Linked DNA regions of Homo sapiens: regions 1, 2 and 4 are each linked to region 3. Evidence: promoter capture Hi-C in 16 types of primary human blood cells and fetal thymus (Javierre and others, 2016). All regions are on one chromosome and are shown on one strand. The core of a region is centred on a gene start or on the middle of the fragment in contact, and the rest is flanking DNA. Distances in the headings are between cores, read along the strand shown.

Region 1 (3,340 bases), core at 54-2,553, 160 kb after region 3:
ATAGAGAACTTATATTTTAAAAGCACAGAGCTGAGACATTAAGCCAAAACATTGTATGATAATAGTTTCTAATATACACAGGCAGGCACCCTTACCAATGGGGGTTTTCTTAAATATGTAAATTTCTAAATTGGATTTGTGGCTTCAGGGTGGAGCCCTTCAAGGAACAGGGCCAAGAAAGCGTGCAGCTTCCAGGGCCTGACAGGCAGAGCTGTAAGATAGAACAGATCCCCAAAAATCAAGGGCTCCGTTTTTACGCCTAATCCTGGGTCCCCCAAAAGAGAAACGCTATAGGACGAGATAGTGATTTTATGGTGTATCTCATTGCAAGGACATTTTTCACTGAGGCTACTGGGCAACCCAAAGCCAATCAGCTCAATCTGTAATCAGTCCATTCCCCAATCCATACTTTCCGGGTCCCCAAGAACATGGTTTTCTTATTCGGTGTGCAAAGAACCAAGTATCACCCTGTAGTAACTCAATTGTAAGCATCTGCCATTAGCCATCCCTAAGAGTATATCTCTTACCTAGCTATTACACACCAAGGCTAAAAGTTCTCTCGTAAAGCCTCTCTCATAAAGCGATTCCTTCCTCCCTTCCTTCCTTCCTTCCTTCCTCGCTCCCTCCCTCTCTCCCTCCCCCCAAGTCTTGCTCTGTCTCACTTTTTTTTTTTTTTTTTTTTTTTTTTTTTGAGATGAGTCTCACTCTGTCACCAAGGCTGGAGTGCAGTGGTGCAATCTCGACTCACTGCAACCTTCGCCTCCTGGGTTCAAGCAATTCTTGTGCCTCAGCCTTCTGAGTAGCTGGGATTACAGGCATGTACCACCATGCCTGGCTGATTTTTGTATTTTTAGTAGAGAGGGGCTTTCGTCATGTTCAAGACTGGCCTTGAACTCCTGACCTCAGGTGACCCCACCCACCTTGGCTTCCCAAAGTGCTGGTTTTACAGGCCTAAGCCACCAAGCCCAGCCAAAGCAAAGTAATTTCTGATATCCTCAAAAGTTAAAAAGGTCGGATAATGTAATGCAAAACAGAGCAGAGTCATAAATTTTGAGAAGGATTTGTTTACTTACAATTTTGTGGGTTTCATGAGGAAAACAGGTTTTTCCCTAAATGGGGCCCGTGGTACCTCCTCTGTTTCTCCTAAGGAATCCCAGGCTGGCAAAAAGAAGTAAATGGAGAAACAATTCAGCCAACCAAGAAGAAAAAAAAAGCTTTTTCTCAAAAAAAACAAGATCCAAGAAGAGAAAAGGCATAAAGACCTTTAAAATATATGTATAGTGTAAATATCAACTTTTAGTTAAGCCAACTTTTAACCATAGAGCTTCGTTAAAGAAATCCTTTTAAATCTTTTATTACTATACTCTAGCCAGGACAAACAGCCTCTGGCTTTTAAGCTTTTTTCCCCCTCAAAGGTCTCCTCCTAAGTGAAACCAGTAAGTCTTATCTAAGATTATGACTTATCGATGGATGCATGAGGTGTCTCCAAAGAGACAGCAAGCATTTTTACAATATGTAGAATAGCCCCTGAGGTAGCTCAGAGAAAAGAAAATTCAAGACAGGAAATCAGAAGCTGTCCATGGAGAAGAAAAGAATCAATAAATGGCAAAAGTCCCACAAGTATCCAACCAGAAAGGACTCATTCCCAAAGCCAGCAATTGAGCCCAGACTGCTACTATAAAAGGGTAGTCTTAGCTACTGAGCTACAGCATGGGGCAGCTGCCATTAGTCTTCCAGGAAGGAGTCTGGGGCAGTCATTTTCAAGCTTGTAAAGGATTGTAACTGCTCAAGAGAATTTTCTGAAGCTAGTTAGGACATTATTCATCCTTTTTAAAAACTTTAATTATGGAGAATAAAAGATTTCTAAAATTCCTTTTAAAAAAAATGGTATACTCAGTTTCAGTAGTGACTTAATCTGAGTCTTTTACAAGCCCAGATGTTAATGTTCCAGGATTTTATCATATAAGCAAGAGGTATTCTTAGAGAGGGGATAGAGGAGATATCTCCATCGTCCCCAAGAATTCACTCTCTGTAATGGGCTTAAGATAACAAAAGATGACAAGAGCCCTGTAGAAATGGGATCTTTTAAGACAAGACTCACCCAAAGGCATGACACATTTGGGATGAAGAGTGTGCTGACTCATCTCAGACACCCGGTCCTCTCATACTGACATGAACTGAAAAATTCCTGCCCTTTGGATGGTGGAGACTGAGAGTGTACCTCCACATGGTCAACAGAGTCAAGCTCCCAAGGACGTAAAACAAGATGAGAAGGAAATCTCGTCCAGTTTTTGTTTCAGGGACGTGCAGCAAAGTTTGTAACTGACCAGCCCACAGGGCCAGCTTGAGCATTGGGCTTATAGGGATCCTAGGCCCTTGTTCTATCCTACGGTGCCCCTCTCCATGACAGAAGACACATAAAGATAAAAACTGAGAGGAAAGGAGTGAAACAATGTGAATATTCATAGCACAAAGTGCACTAGATTTGCTACAGCCTCAGACTAATCACACAAATCCTTTTTCCCATTAATCAGACTTTGCAAAGGAGACAGTGATTTTTACCATCAGTTTGCGCAGAAAGGGGCCAGAAGCCTGGCTGGTAGGAAATTCTTACCCTTTTGCCGGCATGCTAGCTTTCCAGGTTCCTTATCTCTCAGCAGCTTTGGTGATGCTGCTTGCTGTACCATAGCTGTGGGGGCCATGCTGCATTACAAAAGAAAATCATCTCTTTCTGTTTCATGGAATCATAGTCAAAAACCTCATTTTGCAAGATGTAGCCAGGCTACATGGGGGATCCAAAATGACGTTTTTTATTCCAGGCAGAGGAAAATACACATGACAAAACACAGACACCAGTCACCCCGCTTAGCATCCAAGTATTGACCTGGCAAGGCTTAAACTTGCCTCTGTTGGCCCGTGTTGTCTTTGATCCACTCAAAGTGGGGTGGGGTGTTCTCCAACCAGGAGTTTCAACAGGTGATCTTTAAGCAACATGGAAGAGTGGATAGTCACCCTGAGTTAGACCTGTTGAACTTTGTTCATGGCTCACAGAATGTGACCAACCAGACAAACTAGTACAGTCTCCTGGGCTTTCATCAGCAATTCTTTCAGGGAATTCTCTCCATATATACAAATACGCACAATGAGATAAAGACAAACAAAAAGGCCTTCCAAACCAGGATTCCTAACCAAAAATTTCCAGGAGTAATTCTTCTGAACTAACCTCTTATTCTCTAACTGGGGAGACATCTCCCCAAACCCAGAGTCTTCCTACTATTTTGGGAGAGCCAGCTAATACCCCCAAAGGAGCCAAACCAAGACACTTGAAGGAGCAGAACCA
Region 2 (3,065 bases), core at 281-2,780, 210 kb after region 3:
GAGCACCAGCTGTGGTAGTAGTAGGGGGCTGTAAGCTTGCCCTAAGATGGCTAAGTTAAGTATTTTGGTTTCTCGGGTTATGGGTGGAGCCACATAGCTCCCAAGAGTTTCTGTGTTTTGTGTTCAGATACCAGGGCTGTAGGAAAATATCATCAGGTTGGGGCAGTTTTAGGCAGGTCTGGGTTCAGACTCTTCATGGGTGAGGCTTGCTGCAACCACTGTGGGGGAGGGGGGTTCTCAGGCCAATGATACTATGTTTCAGAGGGGATCTTGGCTGCCTCTGATGCATAATATAGTTTGCCAGGGAAGTGGGGGATAGCCAGTAGTGAGAGACCTCACCCAGCTCCCACACAGTTGGAGAGGCTGTTCTCACTCCTGCTATGCCCCACTCAGACTTTACCCCAGGCCGTGAGCTACTCTGCTGAAAAACCAAGCATGGCTTTCAAACCTTGCCCCTCCCCATATGCCCACTCCATCAGTGGCGCCTCCTGGGCTCTCCTGCACTTGCTTGTGTCCATAGCAGCTCCCCCTTGTCCCCTGGACTCTGCTAAAGGAAATTTGTACCCAGTCAGAACCACTACCAATTTCAGCTGGGAGCTTCCCACTCCAATTCTGCTGGCTGCCTTCCCCAAGGGTCCCTGTCAGATACAGTCAGGGATGGCTTCACTGGGCTCAAGCAGGAGACTGGGAGTACATGCAAGACACTTCCCACTGCTACTTCTACTTTTTTGTGGGACTCCCTAAATCCATTTCATCTCTAGGTGAGGTTAAAACCTCCCATGACCTGGATTTTCAGATTCCCCAGTGGGGATGTGTATTTGGAAGTAGGTTTTCTCCCCTTCACACTTTGGCAACTCAGTTTTTCACCTGTTTTGCAGTTTGTCGCAGCGTGCTGCTTCCTTCAAAGGATCTGTGCAATCAAACAAGAATTCATATAGTAACGTGAATTTTAATCATATAGTTAATCTAATTTAGAATCATTATATGTGTCTTCCTGGTATGTTCTTGCAGTAGTTCTTGGAGCAAAAGATCATGGTGTGAGTCTCCACATGCTGTTTTGTCCATCCATGTGGGAGCTACACATTAGCTGTGTCTCCTACCTGCCATTTTATGTTATATGTCTGTTTTTCAATATTCTCTTATAGTACATGGAGCTTCCTTAATATCAATATTTTGAATTCCTTTAGGGATTTTGTAATTTTCTTTTTGATTGGGATCTGTTCCTGGAGAATTATTTTCTTTTGCGGGTGTCACGTTTTCTTGCTTTTTTGTGTTTTTTGATTGTCCGTATTTTTATGTTGATATCTGAGTTTCTGGTGTAACAGTTGCTCCTCCCAATTTTTTGAATTTGCTTTTGGAGATTTTCTTGTCACCTCTCTGCCTTCTTGGTGGGCCCTTGAGGTGCACAGTGCAGGTGTGGAGTGAGGCAGTGAGTGTGGCTGTAAAGCCTAGGCTTGGAGCCTGGTAGGCAGAGTGTGGGGCGCACAAGAGCTACAAATTTTACATTAGTAAAAAGTAGAATTGTTTTTTCAGGATATGTTACTTCATATTTAGAAACGTGTTCATAAATATTATGAACTGTTATGTAGATGTTTTGTGTGGCCAACAGAATGATGCTTTGAATTCTGAACACTCTTTTGAAAAATATTTTAATGATTAATTTATACATTCTGATGTACATATTGGTGCAAGTTCCCTGGTAATTGCTCAGGAGAGAGAGCAATCAAACAAGAATTCATATAGTAATATGAATTTTAATCATATAGTTAATCTAATTTAGAATCATTTTTATTAGCGCTCAAAAAATTTAAAACTGAGCATAGTTTTTGTGTTACAGTTCTGGGATTGGGGTAATCTTTCTGCACCTCCCCCAACCATTTGATTAACATTTTATAAAAATTTAGGTTAGCTCACTCATTCATTCTTTTTTCCAGATGGTATATCTTGAGAAATATATTTGAATATTCACCTCTCTATATATCATTTGAATAATTATATGTGTTTTATATCATTGTTACTATTTTGACAAACTCAAGATAGTTGACCATCTATATTTTATCATTAATATGTAGATAAAATCATTATAGAGGTAATCTAGTGATATATATCAGAGAATGGAAAGAATATCACCCTTTCAATATGTAATGTTGTCTAATATGTAGCCTTAGTTCATGTAGCTTTTTAGTATCTTTAATGACACTATCCAGTTGAATGTGATTGCGTAGGAGGGCTCAAAGAAGGTAGCAGAGTAGGAGTGGGGAGAGGATTGGGTTAGGGAACAGACAAAAAAGTAAAGTAAAGCAGTTGGTCAACACTTTTATTTAAAAGGAAATGCACAGTTGATATAAATCGTAATGTTTATGTTCAATCTTAACAGCAAAATATACTTCAGACTCATGCTTAGACTGGAAGTAGAACATTGCCAGCTGAAAGAACGAATGCCAGATCTACAACATTCTGTCACTGAGCCATACATAGGTCTGTGATTTGTTTTCCTTAGCTTTTCTTAATAACTTTGTTTTTGCAAAATAAATATTTTTTTGAAATGAAGTCAATGGATTTATTATGATACTAAGCCAGAAGATTTTGGAGAGGCACAGTGGGAGAAACACATAAAAAGACTGAAAGGGCCTGGTTAGATTTGGGAGCTGCTTATATGAAGAAAGAGAGAGCTAATTAAGCATGCCATGTTCTCTAGCTCCTTTTATTTTGCTTGTGTTTGTTTGTCTTCTCTTTCTCTAACCTTTTGCGTTTAGCCTGTCTTTATTTTTCAAGTTTTCTGTTAAAAGCAGCATTTTCTTTGAATACTTGTCATCATCATCCTTCTATGTCAGACTTTGTCCAGTGTTCTCAGGTTCTTCTCACCAGAATCACATTCCAAACACAAGCCTGTCTTTGTGTCTTTTTTAAAACTCAGTGAAAAGCAAATTAGAATATGAGCTGAAAAACAAAACATACTTTGTTAATGTCTTTGAAAAATTAACTTAAGCATAACCTGTTTTGTAGCTCTTATTTTCTAAAAAGGAAAGCTTATTTTCTAGTAAATGCTAAATCATAGATTTCTT
Region 3 (3,334 bases), core at 507-3,006:
TGCTGTGAGGAAGCCTAAATTAGCCATATGGAGAAGCCATGTAGAGAAAAACCAAGGTATGTAGCTAACAGCCTTCTTTCTGTTCCAGCATCCTTAGCTCGTGGCTTCCATGTCCATATTTTCCACATCATGTTCACTTCATTTTTGTCATGAAACTCCATCTCCATCCTTAAGTCCCAAGACTTATGACCCTAGTTAAGCCATTCCAGCCAGGCCCCAGTATGCCCACGCTAATTGAAGCCCCAGACATCATGGAGCAGAAATGAGCCACCTGTACTATGCCCTGACTGAATTCCTGTGCCAGAGAATTCAGAATCATGAGTAAATAAAAGAGCCATTGTTTTAAGTCATTATATTTTGGGGGTGGTTTGAACACAGCAATAAATAACTGAAATACTACTAAAAGCATAAAGAATGTATAACAACCTAATTGTTACAAGGGAGTGGAATTAATAATCTACAAGAAGGCACAAAAGGACAGAAAAGAAACAGAACAAATGAGAAAAATAGAAAGCCAACAGTAATATGGTAAACTCAAATATTAGCTTCTAGGCAATTCTATGTATGAGTAGACACTGACCAAGATCTTGTCTCAATAAGATTTTAAATGTAAAGATTTTCATCTTTTACCTATTGTCCTCTGAATTCCGCCCATATCATTCTCACCTTAGTTTAATGGCCCTGCCTTGATGCAATTTGAAATAAGCTGCTAAGGAGATAACACCCTTAATCTATTCATTGCTGGTGCGCTTACCCAGTCTGGTTTAGAACCGTTTAACAAAGGCTTAGAATCATAATGTCTATGATTATTACCTCTTAGCTCCTAGTTTTACTGACTTCCATGTCTGGAATTACCAGCACTTCTTTTTCGTACATATGGATTATATGAACTAAATGTATTGTTTCTTCCCTCACTACTGAAAATCTATTCAATATATGGAGTTACAATTCAAAGTATTTTACAACCCAGAAAATATGGCCATTCCGTATGTGGTGTGTATTTCAGAGGTGCTCTGCAAGCTCCATGAGGACAGGCGTGAAGTTCAGGCTACATGCCTGGTACGTAATAGACGCTCTGACAGACATTTGCTGAATGAATAAGTTAGTCACTACGGCGTTTGTGGGCTTTAAAACACAAGTAAATGCGCTTCTATCGCCAAAACCTCACAGCTTCCCTTCTGCAAGGTGGCGTACAAGGCCCACGAAATAGTCGGCCGCCGCAGGTGCGCAGCCTGTCCAGCCTGTCCGGCTCGGGGCAGGCGACCTCGTCTGGTGGCAGTGGGGGAGGCAGCCGTTTGCTTCCTCACAGGGTGTGCCGGAATCAGAGGCTGGAGGCGTCTGGGGAGTAGGCAAATAAACAAAGCCAACCGCACCGAAACGGGTCGTTCCGTTTCACATCCTCCCTCGGGTGTCTGGGTCTTCTCGGAACAAAGTGACCCTCCATCTGTCCGCAGGCAGGTGGAGCCCGTCCCACGCGGCACGCGCCTTCCTTCCTCACAGCCGCGTGTAGACGCGGACCCTCAGGGACACTGCGGACGCGAGAAAGGACACGCCCCCTCGCGGGAGCATAAGTCCACCGCACAGAACTCGCGCGCCTCCCCTCGAACGAACGCGCACGCGCGCGCAGGGGGCGGGTCTTCTTCCCGACACCCACTGAGCGCCCGGCCTCCTCACCCCACCCCACCGAACTCCGGCCGCCCAGGCTCCGCCTCCGCGACGGGCCGTCGGGAGGAGGCGACCGGAAGCCACTTAAAGCAGAGATCGAGGTGACAGGCGAGCTGGCTGGACTCGGAGCGCGGTCGAGGCTTTCTGCGTTCGCGGCGGCGGAATGGCCCGTGCGCGGCTCGCCGCGTCGCGGCTCTGTGGTCCCTAGACGTCGGCTCCCGCCCTCGGCGCTGATCTCCGGCGCGGGCACTGCTTTCCACTCGGCTCCTGTCGTCCGTTCTCTCAGGCTCCCGTTCAGGTAAAGGGCTCCGGGAGGGCACTGAGGGGCTGAAGAACCCTAGCGGGGAGTGCGAGCGCCGGCCTCGCGGCTCCGGCCCCGGCCCCGGCCCCGCGCCGGCAGTGTGCGGGGCTCTCGCGGATCGGGGTGATTGATTTTGAGACTGCCCTTTGTACCGAATTCACTCGGGTCCCGTCAGCATGAAGATGGAATTGGTTTACACTTCTTAGGCACTTAGAGCCTGTGGCAGGTGTATACATCAGACCGAGGCGCCGAAGGATTTAGTTGGGGTCGCAGGCGCCTGCCCCTTCCCCGTTCGTCAGGGTGGGGGCGCGTCTATGCGGCCTCCCCCGCGGGCCGACCCCGGGTGCTCTGAGGCGCCTAGGAGCCCTTCCCAGACCCCGGGGGGGAGGGCACGGCAGCTACGGGAGCCTTCCGGCTACCCCGCGTTTCGGGCTGCAGCCCAGAAGTTTGGAAGATGTTTTCACATTAACTTTGAGAGCGCACAAGTCTTCGTCTTCCTCCCCGCCGCCGCGGGAAGCGCTCGCCGCCTTTCCCCCGCGCTTCGCGGCTCAGTTCTGCGAGCCCCCAAGACCCGTTGGACGCTCCTCGGGAGGTGAGCTGAGGGGGTAAAGAAGAATTAGAGAGAGAAGGCGCCGCGAGTAGTCTCTGGGATGCAGGGAGGCCGGGGCGGGTCGTTGGTCCGAAGGAGGCTGGACAGGAGTTGGGGGGCGCCCAGGCGCCTGCTGAGGGGAAGGCGGGGGCGGGGACGCCCGGGAACACCCGGAATTGCAGAGCCGGGCGGCGCCTCAGCTGCACTGCGCGGAGTTGGCGCGGCCCGGGACCAGGAGCTGAGCAAACCGCCGCGGCCAACAGGAGGCGTCACTCGGACCCGGGCTCGGCGCCGGGGTGTCGCGCGGCGGCGGGCGGGCAGGCTTTGGAGCGGCAGTTTTTTCGGAAAGTGCTTTTGGCCGGGAGTGCCGCAGAACCCCAGCGTCACGAGGTGAGGGGTGTCGCGGTGTGTCGCCTGCCGCTGGAGACCGGAGGATGTGTTCTTCTCATCTTTATTTTTCTGTTATGAAAACTAATTGAGGAGCTAGGTTCTAGTGGCTTTCCCCCTCCAGCCACTTCTCCAGTTCTCTGCTTCTTCCTCCCAGTTTTGTTTCCGAGTTTGATGAAAGGGCAATAATAGGAAAAGTTGCGCGCGCGCGCTTGCGTGTGTACGCGCAGACACACATATAAATAAAATCGATTTAGTGTCTATTTTACCTTGATTGGGTTTGATAGGAGTGGTTAGAGAGTGTGCGCGTGGGGAAAGCACAGGCCGGTTTGGTATGGTGGAGAGGGAATACCACAATCTGTGCCAATTGTGCCTTGAGGCAATAACACCAA
Region 4 (2,884 bases), core at 103-2,602, 180 kb after region 3:
AGCCTCCCGAGTAGCTGGGACCACAGGTGCACACCACCATGCCTGGCTAATTTTTGTATTTTGTAGTTTTTTTTTTTCTAGAGATGCTGTTTTGCTATGTTGCCTATGTTGGTCTCGAACTCCTGGGCTCAAGTAATCTGCCTGCCTTGGCCTCCCAAAGTGCTGGGATTATAGGCATGAGCCACGTGCCCAGCCTTATTTTCTTAATATATGTAGTTTATATCTTTATCTTTTAATAGACTAGTTTTAACATTAGCAGTATATCAAACATATTGTTGTGCTGCTGACATTTGCCACTTAACTATATATATTGGAAATTGTTCCATGTTAATGTATGTAGATCTACCTTGTTCTTAACTACACCAACATTTTTGTTACCAAGAATATGCTATAATTTACTTAATCAATTTTCTTTTCAACATTTATATTATTTCCAATTTTTGTTATTACATGTAGTATTTGTATTTATGTTCTTGTGAACATATGTTGTTCCAAAGGATAAATTTCTAGAAGTGGAACTACTGAAAGAAAGCAAATGCCAGTTTAAAATTTTGATGGGTATTATACCAAGTAGTCCCTTGAGAAATTAGCATTAACTTACATTTGGCCAATAGTTGATGAAGTGACCACTTTCCTACATTTTGTTAATATTAGGTTTTTCTTAATTTTTTTCAATCTCTTGAGTGAAAAATGTTACCTCGTGGTTATTTAATTAGTATTTGTTTTTTGCCAATGAAGCTGAACATTTGTTTGTGTATTAGACATTTATATTGATTACCTATACACATATATTGACCATGTTATTGGGTTATTTGCTTATTTTTGTTTATTTGTAGGTGCTTTTAATATAATATTGGCATTATACTGTGTTTATATATGTTGTTAATATTTTCTCATGGTTGCTTGTCCTTTCACTTCATTGTATTTTTTTGCTGTATCTTTTAAAAATTTTAATAATATCCTGTGCCAGGTTCTGGTTGGTTAAGAGTTTTGTGTCAAGTTCTTTTAGTTGCAAACAATGGAAACTTATCTGACACGAACCTAAACACAAAAGAGAATTTATTGGAAGAGTATGAGGTGATAGCTCATTGAAAGAAAGGAAAAACTCAAGAACCCTGGCTTTGGAAATGGACTAGAAACAGAGCTTGTTCAGGGATCTGGGAAATCTGGGGTAAATTCACTCAACTTTTTTTTCCTTGCATCATTCCCTTCAAGATTCAAATCCCAGAAGAGTCTCACTGGCTTTACTTCTTTTATGTGACCACCCTCCAATTCCACCCCCTTAGCCTGATGAAGGGGGGAACCTTGATTGATAGGTCTATGAAGACTTCATACAATGAAAGCAAAGGTATTCACTAAAGAGAAGTTAGAGTACTGTTATCAGAAGAAGAGGGAATAGACTCACGCAAGTAGAAACAACAACATATGTTTAAAACTTATAGTATTAGAATTAGCTTTTTAATCTATTTAGTATTAATTTTGTATATAATTTGAGGTAGATTTCCAATTTCATGTTTGTTGTTTCTCAGATGTCTGGCTGTTGGCCCAATATCACTTATTAAATTCTTCATCCTCTCTCCCTTGACTTGAAATGCCACCTATTAATTTTTCTTCTAGCGTATTTCTGGACGGTCTGTTTTGTGTTATTGATTTATTGTCTATCATTGAGTCAGGGCCACACTTTTAACTACTTTAGCTTTATAATATGTTTTTGATATTTTGTAGGACAAGTGTTTGGTTTGCCTTTCAGGTTACCCTGGCTTTTTAGTATATTTTCTTTTCTGGACGAACTCTAGAATCAGCTTTTCCGATTCCATAAAACATGCTGTGTTATGATTTAGACTGGGATTGCATTTACTTTCTAGAGCAGTTATATTATCTCGATAATTGACATCTTTATAATCTTAAGGCTTCTTATCCAGGAACATGGATTCCCCATTTATTCAGATGTTCTTTAAATCCTTCAATACAATTTTATAATTTTTAAATACATCGTGTATTAGTTTAATCCTTGGACATATTTTTGTTGCTTTTGGGAAAGATGTCTTTTTATTACATTTTTTTGAATGCTATTTATTTCTGTAGCTAGCTTCCTCATTGAATTCTTTTATTAGTTGTTTGAATTTTTTAATTTTCTTGAATATTTGTTATATATGTTTATAACACACACATACCTGTAAAACAGTCACATCATATGCAAATAGTGCCTGTCATCTTTTTATTTCCAATAGTTATACCCTTTTCCTCCTTTTTCTTGTCTTATTAAATTAGATTGGACCTGTAGAACAGTGTTGAATAATAAACTTGTAGAATGCATCTTTATATTTATTTCTAATGTAATGCAATCCTGCCTAGTATGTTTCTGTTTTTAAAAGGACATCTGCTATAGGTTTCTTAAAGATACCTTTTATCAATTTAAGGAATTCTTCCTTTTATTTCTAGTTCTTTAAGTTTATTTAAAATCAGATGACTATTGAATTTTAATAAATGCTTTTCTATCTTCTATTGAGATGATCATATGATTTGTTTTCCTTTAATCTGTTAATATAGTAAATCATACTAATGGATTTTCTAATATGAAGCTAAACTTACATTTTTGATAGAAAGCCATTTTGATCATGTTACGTATTTCAGGGTTCCCAAAGTCTCATGTATTTGCTTGCCTTCTTCATGATTCTTGCCACTGCTATAAGTACTCTGCACTATTCTATTTTTCTGTGAATTATCCCTTAAATATATGTATTTCTATGCATATAGTAAGTGGAAAAACACTTATCACTTGCCATAAATAGAAGATTTAAAAAATAAGTATATAGCTACAGGTTGAGTAACTTTTATCTTTGGATAAAAGCATTGGATAAAAGTACTTTGGTCCAGAAGTGTT

The links. The method cuts DNA at HindIII sites, captures the fragments that hold promoters and counts their contacts. A CHiCAGO score of 5 or more calls a contact.
Region 1: a fragment that was not itself captured here is called in contact with the fragment with the promoter of TIPARP in region 3 in 8 of 17 cell types (non-activated CD4 T cells, activated CD4 T cells, naive CD8 T cells and 5 more); the score reaches 8.7 in non-activated CD4 T cells.
Region 2: a contact is called between a fragment that was not itself captured here and the fragment with the promoter of TIPARP in region 3, in 1 of 17 cell types (naive B cells). The highest score is 5.3, in naive B cells.
Region 4: a fragment that was not itself captured here is called in contact with the fragment with the promoter of TIPARP in region 3 in 1 of 17 cell types (non-activated CD4 T cells); the score reaches 5.8 in non-activated CD4 T cells.

Annotation. Positions count from the first base shown.
Region 1 is chr3:156,835,202-156,838,541 of GRCh38, forward strand. The region is part of intron 2 of LEKR1 (leucine, glutamate and lysine rich 1); the gene reads left to right. Among named protein-coding and RNA genes, the nearest start is that of LEKR1, 11 kb to the left of the region's middle. The HindIII fragment of the contact is 183 bases long and covers 1,213-1,395 here.
Region 2 is chr3:156,885,920-156,888,984 of GRCh38, forward strand. All of the region lies in intron 3 of LEKR1 (leucine, glutamate and lysine rich 1), which reads left to right. Among named protein-coding and RNA genes, the nearest start is that of LEKR1, 61 kb to the left of the region's middle. The HindIII fragment of the contact is 2,994 bases long and covers 34-3,027 here.
Region 3 is chr3:156,672,834-156,676,167 of GRCh38, forward strand. TIPARP (TCDD inducible poly(ADP-ribose) polymerase) reads left to right here and starts at 1,757. Exons shown (of 6, transcript NM_015508.5): 1 at 1,757-1,963. It overlaps TIPARP-AS1 (TIPARP antisense RNA 1), which reads right to left and starts at 2,880. Exons shown (of 1, transcript NR_027954.1): 1 at 338-2,880. RefSeq lists an enhancer at 1,253-1,552 and silencers at 1,963-2,012, 2,043-2,112, 2,483-2,842. The HindIII fragment of the contact is 8,735 bases long and covers 1-3,334 here.
Region 4 is chr3:156,854,658-156,857,541 of GRCh38, forward strand. The region is part of intron 3 of LEKR1 (leucine, glutamate and lysine rich 1); the gene reads left to right. Among named protein-coding and RNA genes, the nearest start is that of LEKR1, 30 kb to the left of the region's middle. The HindIII fragment of the contact is 4,326 bases long and covers 1-2,884 here.